2 separate regions of the Homo sapiens genome follow, and region 1 is linked to region 2. The links are contacts of gene promoters, found by promoter capture Hi-C in blood cells and fetal thymus (Javierre and others, 2016). All regions are on one chromosome and are shown on one strand. The core of a region is centred on a gene start or on the middle of the fragment in contact, and the rest is flanking DNA. Distances in the headings are between cores, read along the strand shown. Region 1 holds the start of GEMIN8 (gem nuclear organelle associated protein 8). Region 2 holds the start of RAB9A (RAB9A, member RAS oncogene family).

Region 1 (5,907 bases), core at 3,358-5,857, 340 kb after region 2:
CTTGTGGGCCACATACAGTCTTTGTCGCATAGTCTTCACGTTCTTTGCTTTAAAAAAAAAAAAAACACACACCAAACAACCCTTTAAAAATGTAAAAACAATTCTTAGCTTCCTGAAGTACAAAAAACAGGCTGTGGGCTTTTATTTTGCCCACCCCTGTTTCATGTTAACACATTTTGAAGTTGTATAGATTCTCTCTGAATATACTGAGCATCCTAATTGTTCCTCAGTTTCCACTTGGGAATCAGTAGACGAACTTCACGATTCTCACACGTTTCATAAATGATTAGGTTTGGAGAAAGACTAGTGGAGGCAAGAAAACTGACTATGACCAATAGCAATCATGTTGACCGGTTGCTAATATGTGGGACAAAAAAACACTCTCCATGACTAAATAAGGAAATTGGATCTTTTCTTAAATATCCATATAAACATTTAAAGACTTAACTAAAAATAACAATAAAAATTCTGCAAAACCATATCAATCAGCAGGGCTTAGAAAGCAAACAGGACAGAGCTCTGAATCTCTATTCCCTGGAAAGAATATATATTCTTTCCTGCTAAGCAATCAGTTAGTCAGTTAATATCAGTTAGCTCCCAAGGGAAGAAGAGGTCCTCTTCTAGAGATAGGTCCGATTAGCTTTTTTAAGCTGGTTATTTTCTTCACGCATGGAGAACTTAAGGAGCTAATAAGAATGCCTGGGTTTCTGAAAAGCCAACATCTAAATAATTATAGACATTACAGCAACACCTTCAGAGACTACTACCTCTCAAAGAAAAGAGAGCTGATGGTTGCTGCAGATTTAGATGCCCTTTGGTCTTTAATGGTCTTTAATTCGATCTTTCATTCCTCACCTCCCTGGGAATGTCTCCCACTCTTTTATGGCACAAGCCTTCAGGGACTGAACAGTAACTTTTCTCCAATGGGCTGGTGGAGCTGAAAGAAAAGAGATTGGCAATGTCAGGGAAGGCCGGGATCCGCAGCTCTACAAACCCGGCAGCCCTCTCCAGTGAGCACAATGGCATAATGGCCACCACCCAGCTGAGCCCAGGCGAGTACAGAGACCATTCATTGTCTGTCCTCAACCACCAAAGAAGGAAGGAAAAAAACAGGGTTGAGGTCATTCACTAAACACTGACGAGGCCTATAGGCAAGGCAGAGACTGAGTCTTGAATGATATATTTTTCCATATAGCCTCTCTTAAAAAACGGATTTACACTTCAGTACATCTGCTCATCCTGCAGGATCTATTTTTAATGCATAAATATACACAAAGAACAATAGATAAGAGCTTTGTAGTTTTCAATGGATAAAATGTGACTATTTCCATCAAGTTACCAAAAAATTTCACAAATAAGTGGCTTTGTTGACAGGTAGTGCCATCAAATATATTCTTTTAATTACATATTTATGTTCTTATAAATATAGAATATAGGACAAATCGTAGCAACCAAAAAAGTAAAATAAAAACACAAATTCCCCTAAAAACTAGAATGTATACTTGAACTAGATTTTCCTATCTTCCTTTTCTACTAGAATTCTAAAAATACATGAAAATTCACCTGCTTTGATCTTTGCACAGAAACACATTAAAAGCCAATCATTAAATAAGTTACTCTGGCTAAAGCCCTGAAAGTCAAACCTTCCCTACAAAGCTCCAGTGATTTGGTTCTCTGAACCAACCAGGTAATTTGGAGGATTTAGTTAGGTCTTCAGTACACACTGTTTCAAGGAGATCTGCTGGACACTGCAGCAAAATAAGTGAAGGTATGGTGAGAAATCTGAGTGAGATAGATTGAGTCATATGCGGTTCCAAGGAATCTCTCTGTACATGCAATAATAACCCTATCACAGAAGATGTCTTCCAATAATACACACAACAGTAAGAACTTCCTCACTAAGACAAAGAATATAATAGGGTTTTGTTGAGGGCTGGGCTTCCTGCCCCACCTACTTGGGCAGCCCTGCCCCCATCCCTGGCTGGTTGCTGAGGCTGGCAAGCTCATCTGGCTTGATGCCCTCATGGCCTCCCTCCTGTGTCTTTGCATGGTCCCTGCTTAGTGATTTGGACATCAAAGATGGCTCAAGTCCAAATGGCCTTCTTCCACCTGCAGACATCCAAGCTCCATCTTGGGCAGGACACAGGCCTACTCAAGTGCACATGCCACTGTGTTCAGAAAGCCTGCATCTCCCCGTCTATAATAGCTACAGTTAAAACTGATAGGCAAGGGAGCCAAAAAACTGAGTTTTATTTTCTTTTCATTCCCTCAATCCCCAACCCCAATTTACCCTCTTCTGGATGTTGTAATAAGTACTGTCACAAAGAAGGCATAGCATGGGGAAGGAGTAAGGCTGAAAGGATGCAGTTAACAATTCTTTTTTTCATACAAATGACATTCCACCCACAGAAGGGCATTGTTTAATTTGTCAGCAAGTGTGATGAATTTGTGAATGGGTTTATTTGCAAGTTCTCTGAATCCCCTTGTGACTAATATCAGAATCAAAAGTGAAATATGAGGCCAGGAACAAAGTTACCCTCTGACTCAGGAACACAACAAGCAATGGGATGACTGAGAATGACATAATGATAACATAGTTCAAAAGAGGAAACAGATAAGTTTGTTTCACAGCAAGCATGTCCTTCATAAGCAAAACCTAGTGTGACCATAAGGTAATAAGGGTTGAATAGGCAGGTTCTGCAAATTAAGAGCATAACAGCAAAAACCATGGCTAGTTTAAAGTAGTTAAGATCGCTAGTACATTTCAGGCGTCTTATTTCAAATTTACTTTTTTCTATAAACATATTCACGGTAATTCCATGTTAATCTCTCTTTTCTGAATTTATAGGCACTCACTATGCCTCATTTACTTGGGCACTTACTCAGTTACCTGTAGGCATGGATTCTACAATCTACTCCTTTTAAGTTTCCTATTTTCCTTCCAGCATAAAAATAATAGCTAATATTTCATGCTCTTAGATGCTGCTGAAATTGTTGAGCTTGTCTGTTGTTTCCTGATAACGTTCTCTCCTCCTGCATCTACTCCCCAAAATCTCTGAGGACCTAGTAACTCAAAAAACTGACTATAAAGCACCAAATCTTTTCAGGAAGCAAATATTTAAATACATTATGTTTTCAAAGATCTTTTCAATTCATCTGATATTTGATCAACTACATTCTTTTTTCACTTGTCCAGCTGTTCCGTGGCTGAATTTCCTCTTGTAGAGAAGTTGTTCAAAAAAAGTTCTGTACCTACTTTGCAAACTCTCCAATTTACACTCTAGCCTTAACTGTTCAAAACTTTCCCCCGTCATTCTCATCTCACCCTATCCTTTAAAAAAAAACCCAAAATGATTAATCACCATCTATAGAACAGTTTCAGAATGAACATTTCTCTCTGGAACTTTAGTTTGTATACTTCCCCAGCACAGCAATGAACACACAGAGGGGATTTATACACCTGTGAACTTGCTTTCAGTTATGCTTATTCCAAGTTACTAACCAGCAGTCTTTAAAAATATATGGTTTCTGTTCACATTGAAATTACAAAGAGACTGTTATTCCGATAAATTATGCTAGCAAAAATAGTATTTTTAAAGGGTAGCTCTCATCCTACAATTCATGGGGGCTGTGAGCATAAATAATCCTAGAAGTGTTGCGTTACTAATCTTTAGTCTAGATTTTTTAAGTAATATTGTTCTGATTTGAGATGAAGAACAGCTGAATACACAGCCTAGCCTGTCAAACGAGTTTAAAAACATCATTCCTGAAAAAAATAAAATTGTTCAGAACCATCTGATCTGTACTAAGGGAACATCAAGATTTCAGAGCTAAAATGCACTTCGTTGGCCACTGGTTCAATTACAGCTCATTACTGATAAGTGGGCAGAGACACAAGGCCCATAAACTGTAGGCGCCAGATGTCTCAAGATAACTCCCACCAAAAGCTGACCTCCTGCAGAGGTTAAAGTGCAAGAGAAAAGAAAGAAACCCGAATTTTTGAGCAGAGAGGGCAATATCCTAGACATCCTTCAAGTATGTGGCTGTCCTGGGCGATCTTCTATTCAGATACTGGACTGGATGGGCAAAATCCGAATTCACCTACAGACCTTAACACGGTGGTTCTCGGCACCCCAGAATCACCTGGGCAGCTTTAAAAACTACCGATGCCAGGGCCCCACTATTAGAGATTCTGATTTCATTGGTCCGGGATGGGGGCCCGGGGATCAGAATTCTTAAAGAGTCGTCCAGTGATTCGGAAGCACTGCAGAGCTGAGAGCCTCTGGGACTGGTCCCCTCTCACAATTAACCTGCAATGATTTAGGAATCTCATGGGCCTCCGGCCCCACCTTTTGTCGCGGGATTAAGATAATTATGAGAGCAACGTGACGTCCAAGACCTCGGCTCTCTGCGCATCAGAAGAAGCCAGGGCCCGGGGCGTCTAAGCTCCTCCCTCACTCCCCAAAGGAAACCCAGCCGTCCCCGAAGTCACCTCGTGGGCGCGCAGCTTGCGGATCCTGGGCGTTGGCCGCGCAGGGGCCTAGTTTTCCTTGGAGAGACAGAGGGGGAGTGGGGGACGCGAGGGAGGCGGCTGTTGCCGGGGCGACTGGAAGCGCGCTTCCGGTGCGGAACACGTGGCGTGGCGCGGCGCGCCGGAAGTCCCCCCCTGTGTCGCGGACGTCACGTTCGCACCGCAGGCGGTGCAGTGCTGGAGGCCGGAAGCTGCCTGCTAATCGGCTACCCCGAGTGGAGCGCCGGGGCGGCAGGCGTGGGATGGCTGCGGGTGGCGGGGCCGGCGGAGAGGGAGCTGCACCGGGCGGGGCACTGGGACTGTGGCGGGCACCCGCGCCGGGGGTCGGACGGTGCTTCTGCACCGGCGAGATAAGGGTCGCTTCTGCACCGCCCGGGTTTCCAGCCTTTAACTTTTTGTCCTTTCCTCAGCTTTCTTCGTTTTCCTTCCCTTGTCTTTACTTAGCCTTTTCTTTCTTCCTTTCTGTTTTCTTTCTTAACTAAAACAGTTTTAGTTTCTTAATTTGTCCCAGCGTAAAACACCCAGTCTTTGAAAATAGATTAACCCAGATCTCAGTTTGAGTGCGAGTCCAGTGCTAAGTTTGTAACTTCCCCAAGCCTCGTGTGTCTCATCTATAAGATATGCATAACCTAATGCAGAGTGCCTGATGCATTGCAGCAGACAAAACATTAGTACTAATATGTTTGTAATTATAACCATCACAGCAATACCTGCCCTGTTAACATTACAAGAGTCATTAACAAGAACCAAGCATAAACAATTAGAAGTCTTACGTGACATATCATTTCTGGGGCAATTACCATATTTAATACTTTCTGGGAATTTATTCCAAGGAAAAACAGGTACGAACCAGATAGATGTTTATTACAGAATTATTTTAAAAAGTGAAAATTGGAAAAGACCTAAATGCCCAACAAGGAAATGGCTAAGTCAATTGGGTGGTATTAATGACGTGACATTACTGTATTATTCCTGGACTACAGAAGAATTAAAATGGTATAGAAGAATATTAACTTTAACAAATATTTACTGGATGCCGGCTATGTGCCAAGTATTCTATGTTAGCGCTGTCCATTGTAACCACTACATGTGGCCCTGAGAACCTGAATTGTAGTAGTCTGAACTGAGATACACTGTAAGGGTAAATTACACTCTAGATTTTGAAGAAGAATGAGAAAAAGAATGTAAAATACCTCAATTTCTTTATAGTGATAACATCTTAGAGAAGGACTATTGAGGTTAAAGACTAAAATTTGATCTTTATCTTTTTACTTTATTAGTGTGGCTACTAGAACATTTAAAATTATATATGTGGCATGCATTGCATTTCTATTGTACCGTGGTATTCTATTTACCGGATACACAGTAGTAAACAA
Region 2 (5,480 bases), core at 848-3,347:
CACTTGTAGCTTTTCATCAGAGATGCCAGAAGTGATTTCTTTCAGTCTCCAGCTTGAGATGGGGTATTAACTCCTAGTACTTATAGTAATAAGTAGGTGTTATTTAAGTAAAAGAATCATTTATGCATAGCAACTTTGGCCTCTTTCTCTCCCGTGAGTGATGCATTGGTGTTTACAGAATATAAAGATGAAAATCTTCGTTAGATGAAGGGAGTCAAACTAGGTTAGTTCTTTAATGTTTTCATCAAGGAACAAGTTTATGGAGCAAGAGAGATAGCAACTGTCTATCCAACTTGCATCAGCTTACCAACCACACACATCCAATAACAAAAATCCCCCAAACTTGCCCTTCAGAGAAAAATCTTTTAACCCACTTTACTCTTGCACTGACATAGAAATGTGGTTAAGAAGTGAATGGTGGAAGAGACCAGAATATACTAACTTTCTTAAATGTCAGTTGGCTAGTATCCAACTGATAGTAATTTTAGAGAAAGTAACTTTCTAAGCTTATTCTTTCTTAAGGTACTATAAGCTACACTCAAATATGTTTGAATGCCTTCTTACATTTTGGAACAGCCTGAGAGTCACTTATGGAACCTTCTTAGAACATTTTTATGAAAGCTGTTGGGTTTGTCAAGGTTTATTTTAACTCAAAATACAATAATTTTATGAGATCACTTGTTAATAGCTAGTTGGCATTAGCAGTTGCACAGATAAACTCCTATTTGATCACTCCTTGACTATGGTTAGGATATACGATTTTCAGGTGGCATTTCTTTAATTACCCTGTGGATTGCTTGTTGCAATTTGACCCAATGTACATGACTTTTTTTTCTATTGGAAAATTAACTCTAGTGTTCATATATAATGTTTTACTGTGTACTTTTAATATGTGTTTTAAAACAAGATAGTGTATATTTCTTCTTCCCCCCAATTTAACAGATTTGTATTTTATAAACGTTTATACATATTTCCTTGGGGAAATGACCTGCAGATAAGAAATAGATTTCTGTTTATGAGAAAACAATTATTTAAGCTTATGTGTCGTTTTCAGAAGCATTCTAAAATTGCCTTTTTAATTTGTGAGGAACTTTCTCAAACATGACCTTTCTAGTGCTGAATGAAAAGTCATTACCTGAAAATGACTCCCCAAAAAGCTGGAGATTATTTAACTTGTTGTGAGCCCCAGCATCATAAAAGTGAGATCTTTGTCTTGGAAAATAAACAGACTAAATCTTTTTTAAAAAGCTTTTATTTTAGGTTTAGGGGTACATGTGTAGGTTTGTCATGTAGGTAAACTGCCTGTTGCAAGGGCTTGGTGTACGGATTATTTAGTTACCCAGGTAATAAGCATAGTACTTGATACCTAGTTTTTTTCTGCTCCTTTTCCTCCTCACACCCTCAACCCTCAAGTGGGCCCTGGTGTCTCTTGTTCCTCTCTATGTGACCATGAGTTCTCATCATTTAGCTTCTACTTATGAGTGAGAACACGCAGTATTTGGTTTTCTGATAAACAAACTAAATCACCGTACAAAACGTATTGAGATGTCCCTATGAGTCCCTCCCGCCTGTAGGGTTCTGTATCATAGGATCCATGCACTCAACTTCATACATAAAGCAAGGACTTAAGGAGAGCTTCTCCAATACCACCTTTTGCACCATCGCTTTCTATTCAGAGATGACAGAGGCAGTATTTTAACAAGATTAAAGGAAAGTTTTAATAGCTTCATTTAAAAAGTTCTTGTTTTTCCACAGTATCACAACTGTTTTCATTTTTCATCCACCTGTTTGTTCTTTGTCCGTTTGACTAGTCGTTTTTATCATTGTAATCACGACATCCTGTGACTGTGCTCATGAGGTCTGTTTATTTCCACTTTACGTAAACTTTTCAAAATGACAGTTATTTCGTACTCGCTGTCGCCCGAACGCAGACGGGAGGACACTTCAGGAGCAATCGACCCGAAGGAAAAGCACGATCCAGGCCCCGCCTGCCTCGGCTCCACCTTCCCCGCGCCCGTCCCCCAGGGTCTCGGCCGCGGGACCCCGCCTTCCAGGCCCCGCCCCGCTTTTTCCCTGGCCCCGCCCCGGCCCGTCGCCATGTTGTTCCCTCCGCGCTGGACGGGAGCAGCTGGAGCGGGAGCCTGGCTGCGCTACCGCGGCTGCCTCCTGCTGTGCAGGTCCCCGACCCTCTCTCTGTCCTCATTGCGCCCAGACGGGCCGGCCCAGAGCTCCCGGGTCGTCTTTCGTGTGGCCGCGAGGTGAGCGGGACTCGGGACTCCTTCGGGACCGGGCGGAGTGCGCGGGTGTCGGGGTCTGAGGGGGCGGCTCGGGCCTCGGGCAGCTGGGGCGGGGTGCGGTGCGCGCGGGGCTAGCGCGGGTCACAAGGCCGCCCCGGGAGAGAGGACGGCTGGTTGTCTCCCTGCCTCCTCTCTGACGCAGGAGGAAAGACGGTCCCCACACCCTTGGGGAGAGGGACTCACAGAAACACACACAAACACTGGAGAAAGGGAGATACAAAAGCCCGGACACCCGTGCACATACACACGGAGAAATACACCCGGTCACCTGGGAACACACGTACACGCCAGCCTTTCCCCCAACCACTCCGGGACACACATCCACAGACCCCAAACCAAATCCTACACCCGAATGATTAATGTAGGGAAAACAAAGGCGCTCCCATGACTTGATTTTGGCGACCTCTGAAGTTCCACCTAGCAGAACGTGTTTGCTCGATGTCTTACGACCACTCGGGTGAGGAATTCGGAAAGTAAAGCCAATCTTAGAGGCTGCAGGCGTTTTGGGGGCATTATCTGATTCAGACGCTGGCTAACGTTTCACAATCGCGTTCCCTTTTTTCTTCCAACTTGGTAAGTAAAAAGGCAAAATGAGAAATTTAAGTGCTGAACTTAATAAATAGTTGGTGGACGTATTGCTTTTTTTTTTTTTTGGTAAGGGATGACACATCTCGTGACTACAGTTCTTTTGAGGAATAACTTTTCTGCTAGTTTCCAAATCGGCACGTGACCACAATCTTTTCATAGGATTTTAGCGTCCTGATAAAAATCAATGGGCAGAATTTGATTGCTTCTTTAAAAATGTGTTTGTCCTTCGGTCTCTGGCACCATTGTAATGGAAAATCCCTACATTGCCTGTACTCTCAGAAGCTGTCCAGTGTAGCAAAACTAGAGATAAAGAAACCTGGAACGATTCAGTTAGGAACTTTTAAGAAGCCAGCCTTTAGTTTTTCCTTTAGAAGATTATGAAGTTATCATGATTGCTTCTCTAGAACTTTAGTAGTTATTTGGATTCCTAAATCTAAGACAATGCTGTGGCAGTCTGGTGCTTTTAGTATTTTTGTGTCTGCTGTGGTAAATTCCTCGTTTATACTACAAAGTTTCTCTTCTGGAGACTTTTGGGATCTGGGCATATTTTTTCGTTTATTATTTGGAATGTTAGAGTAGATAGGCAAACACTAAGTAGAACATCATTGGCTTTGACTCCAAGCCGGGTTTTAGAGATAAGGGAAATAATACCTTAGTGCTATCACTTCTTTTCCAACCTCTCTCATCTCTTTTTGTTTCTATCTCAACCATTTCTTCTGTCTGGACTACAGTACTCTGGAGGCCTAAAGAGAAGATCCTTGAGTTCTCGAAATTATTTTTTTTTAGCCTCCCCTCATTTCTGACCATTTATTGAGCACTCACTCTGCGGCGAATATTCCGTACGTGTAAATCCTGTACGTACATCATTTTATTTAATTTCCATAGCATTTCTTCAGTAAGAGCTCCATGTTACAGTTGAGGAATTTGGGGGGGCATAGGAAGGTTCAGTCTGTTTTCCAAGATGACCCAGGTTGTGATGGGGTGGAGCGGGGATTCAAAGCAGGTCTGGGTAATTTTAGAGTAGTAGTTTTCAACTGGAAGAGAGGACAATTTTGTCCTCGTAGGAGACATTTGGCAATGCCTGGAGGCATCTTTGGTTCACACCTGGGGGCAAGGGAGGTGCTGCTGACATCTAGTGGGTAGAGGCCAGGGATGCTGCTAAACATTCTTTTTTATTTTTATTTTTGTTATTTAATTTTTAAATTTTGCTGCTAAACATTCTATAACCTACAGGACAGCCCCCCACAACAGAGTTGTCTAGCCCAAAATGTCACTAGTGCCACGGTTGAGAAACCCTCCTTTTCAGCAGTCCAAGTAACCCCAGAGCTTACATTTCAACTGCTTTTGTAGTTTTTCAAATGCAATGTCGTTTTCCTATTTGGGATACCTCATCATTTTAACAGTGAGCAGGGGAAAATTCTCTCTACTGAGAAGCATATTCACTTGAAAGATTAAAGAGTGAGTGGCTGGGCACGGTGGCTCACGCCTGTAATCCCAGCACTTTGGGAGGCCGAGGTGGGCGGATCACGAGGTCAGGAGTTTGAAACCAGCCTGGCCAACATGGTGAAACTCCGTTTCTACTAAAAATACAAAAATTAGCCAGGCGTGGTGGCGGATGCCCGTAATCCCAGCTACTCAGGAGGCTGAGGCAGGAGAATCGCTTGAACCTGGGAGGCAGAGGTTGCAGTGAGCCGAGATCACGCCATTGCGCTCCAGCCTGGGCAACAGAATGAGACTCCATCTCAAAAAAAAAAAAAAAAAAAAAAAAAAAAGACCAAATAATTTCTGGTAGCAGAATCTGTTTTTTGTTGTAAGGCAAAAATGACAAAAAGAACTTTAGAGCTATTCAGAGCCATTAAAGTGGACTTAGAAAGTTTAGTTTCTGCATTATTTCAGTTGTCTGAGCAGCCTGTGGGGCACTGATACAAAGGTGCTGATGAGAAGGGCGGTGGGGAGTCCCAACCTTCCTGAAGCTTACAGTCCAATCACAGTCATAAGATTAGGTTCTGACATCATCCTAGAACAGAATTTATTGCCTGGGCTACTCAAGGACAGGGGCCAGGTGTTCATTAAAAAAAAGCAAAACAGGAAAAAAAAGCAAAACAGGCTGAGTGTGGTGGCTCATGCCTGTAATCTCAGCGCTTTGGGAGACCCACACAGGAGGATCACTTGAGCCCAGAAGTTTGAGACCAGCCTGGGCAACATAGTGAGACCCCCGTCTCTACAAAAAATAAATTAAAAAAAAAATTAGCCTAGCTCAGTGTGGTGGTGCATGTCCCAGCTACTCTGGAGGCTGAGGCAGAAGGACGACTTGAGCCCTGGAGTTCAAGGCTGCAGTGAGTCATGATCACACCACTGCATTCCAGCCTGGGCGATAGAGTGAGACCTTGTCGCTAAAAAAATAACAATAATTAAAGAAAACAACTCCACACTCGGCACAGAAGTACCTGTGTCATGGTGTTTACTGTGGGCAGACTTAAATAAAATGGGGAAAACTTGATGTGTGTGTTATAGTTTTGTACGGTTAACCACGTGTGAATATTTACAAGAATCAAATTGAGAAGCCATTCTTGTTGAGCATAAAATTCATCCTTA

What was found. Contacts are between HindIII fragments. The CHiCAGO score rates a contact against its expected background, and 5 or more counts as called.
Region 1: the fragment with the promoter of GEMIN8 here is called in contact with the fragment with the promoter of RAB9A in region 2 in 1 of 17 cell types (total CD4 T cells); the score reaches 5.4 in total CD4 T cells.

The regions. Positions count from the first base shown.
Region 1 is chrX:14,025,285-14,031,191 of GRCh38, forward strand. It overlaps GEMIN8 (gem nuclear organelle associated protein 8), which reads right to left and starts at 4,608. Exons shown (of 5, transcript NM_001042479.2): 1 at 4,493-4,608; 2 at 856-937. RefSeq lists enhancers at 4,197-4,697, 4,698-5,198 and silencers at 4,575-4,774, 4,809-4,948. The HindIII fragment of the contact is 15,884 bases long and covers 1-5,907 here.
Region 2 is chrX:13,687,031-13,692,510 of GRCh38, forward strand. RAB9A (RAB9A, member RAS oncogene family) reads left to right here and starts at 2,098. Exons shown (of 3, transcript NM_004251.5): 1 at 2,098-2,258. RefSeq lists an enhancer at 1,798-1,847 and silencers at 1,998-2,237, 2,248-2,407, 5,032-5,228. The HindIII fragment of the contact is 3,610 bases long and covers 1,247-4,856 here.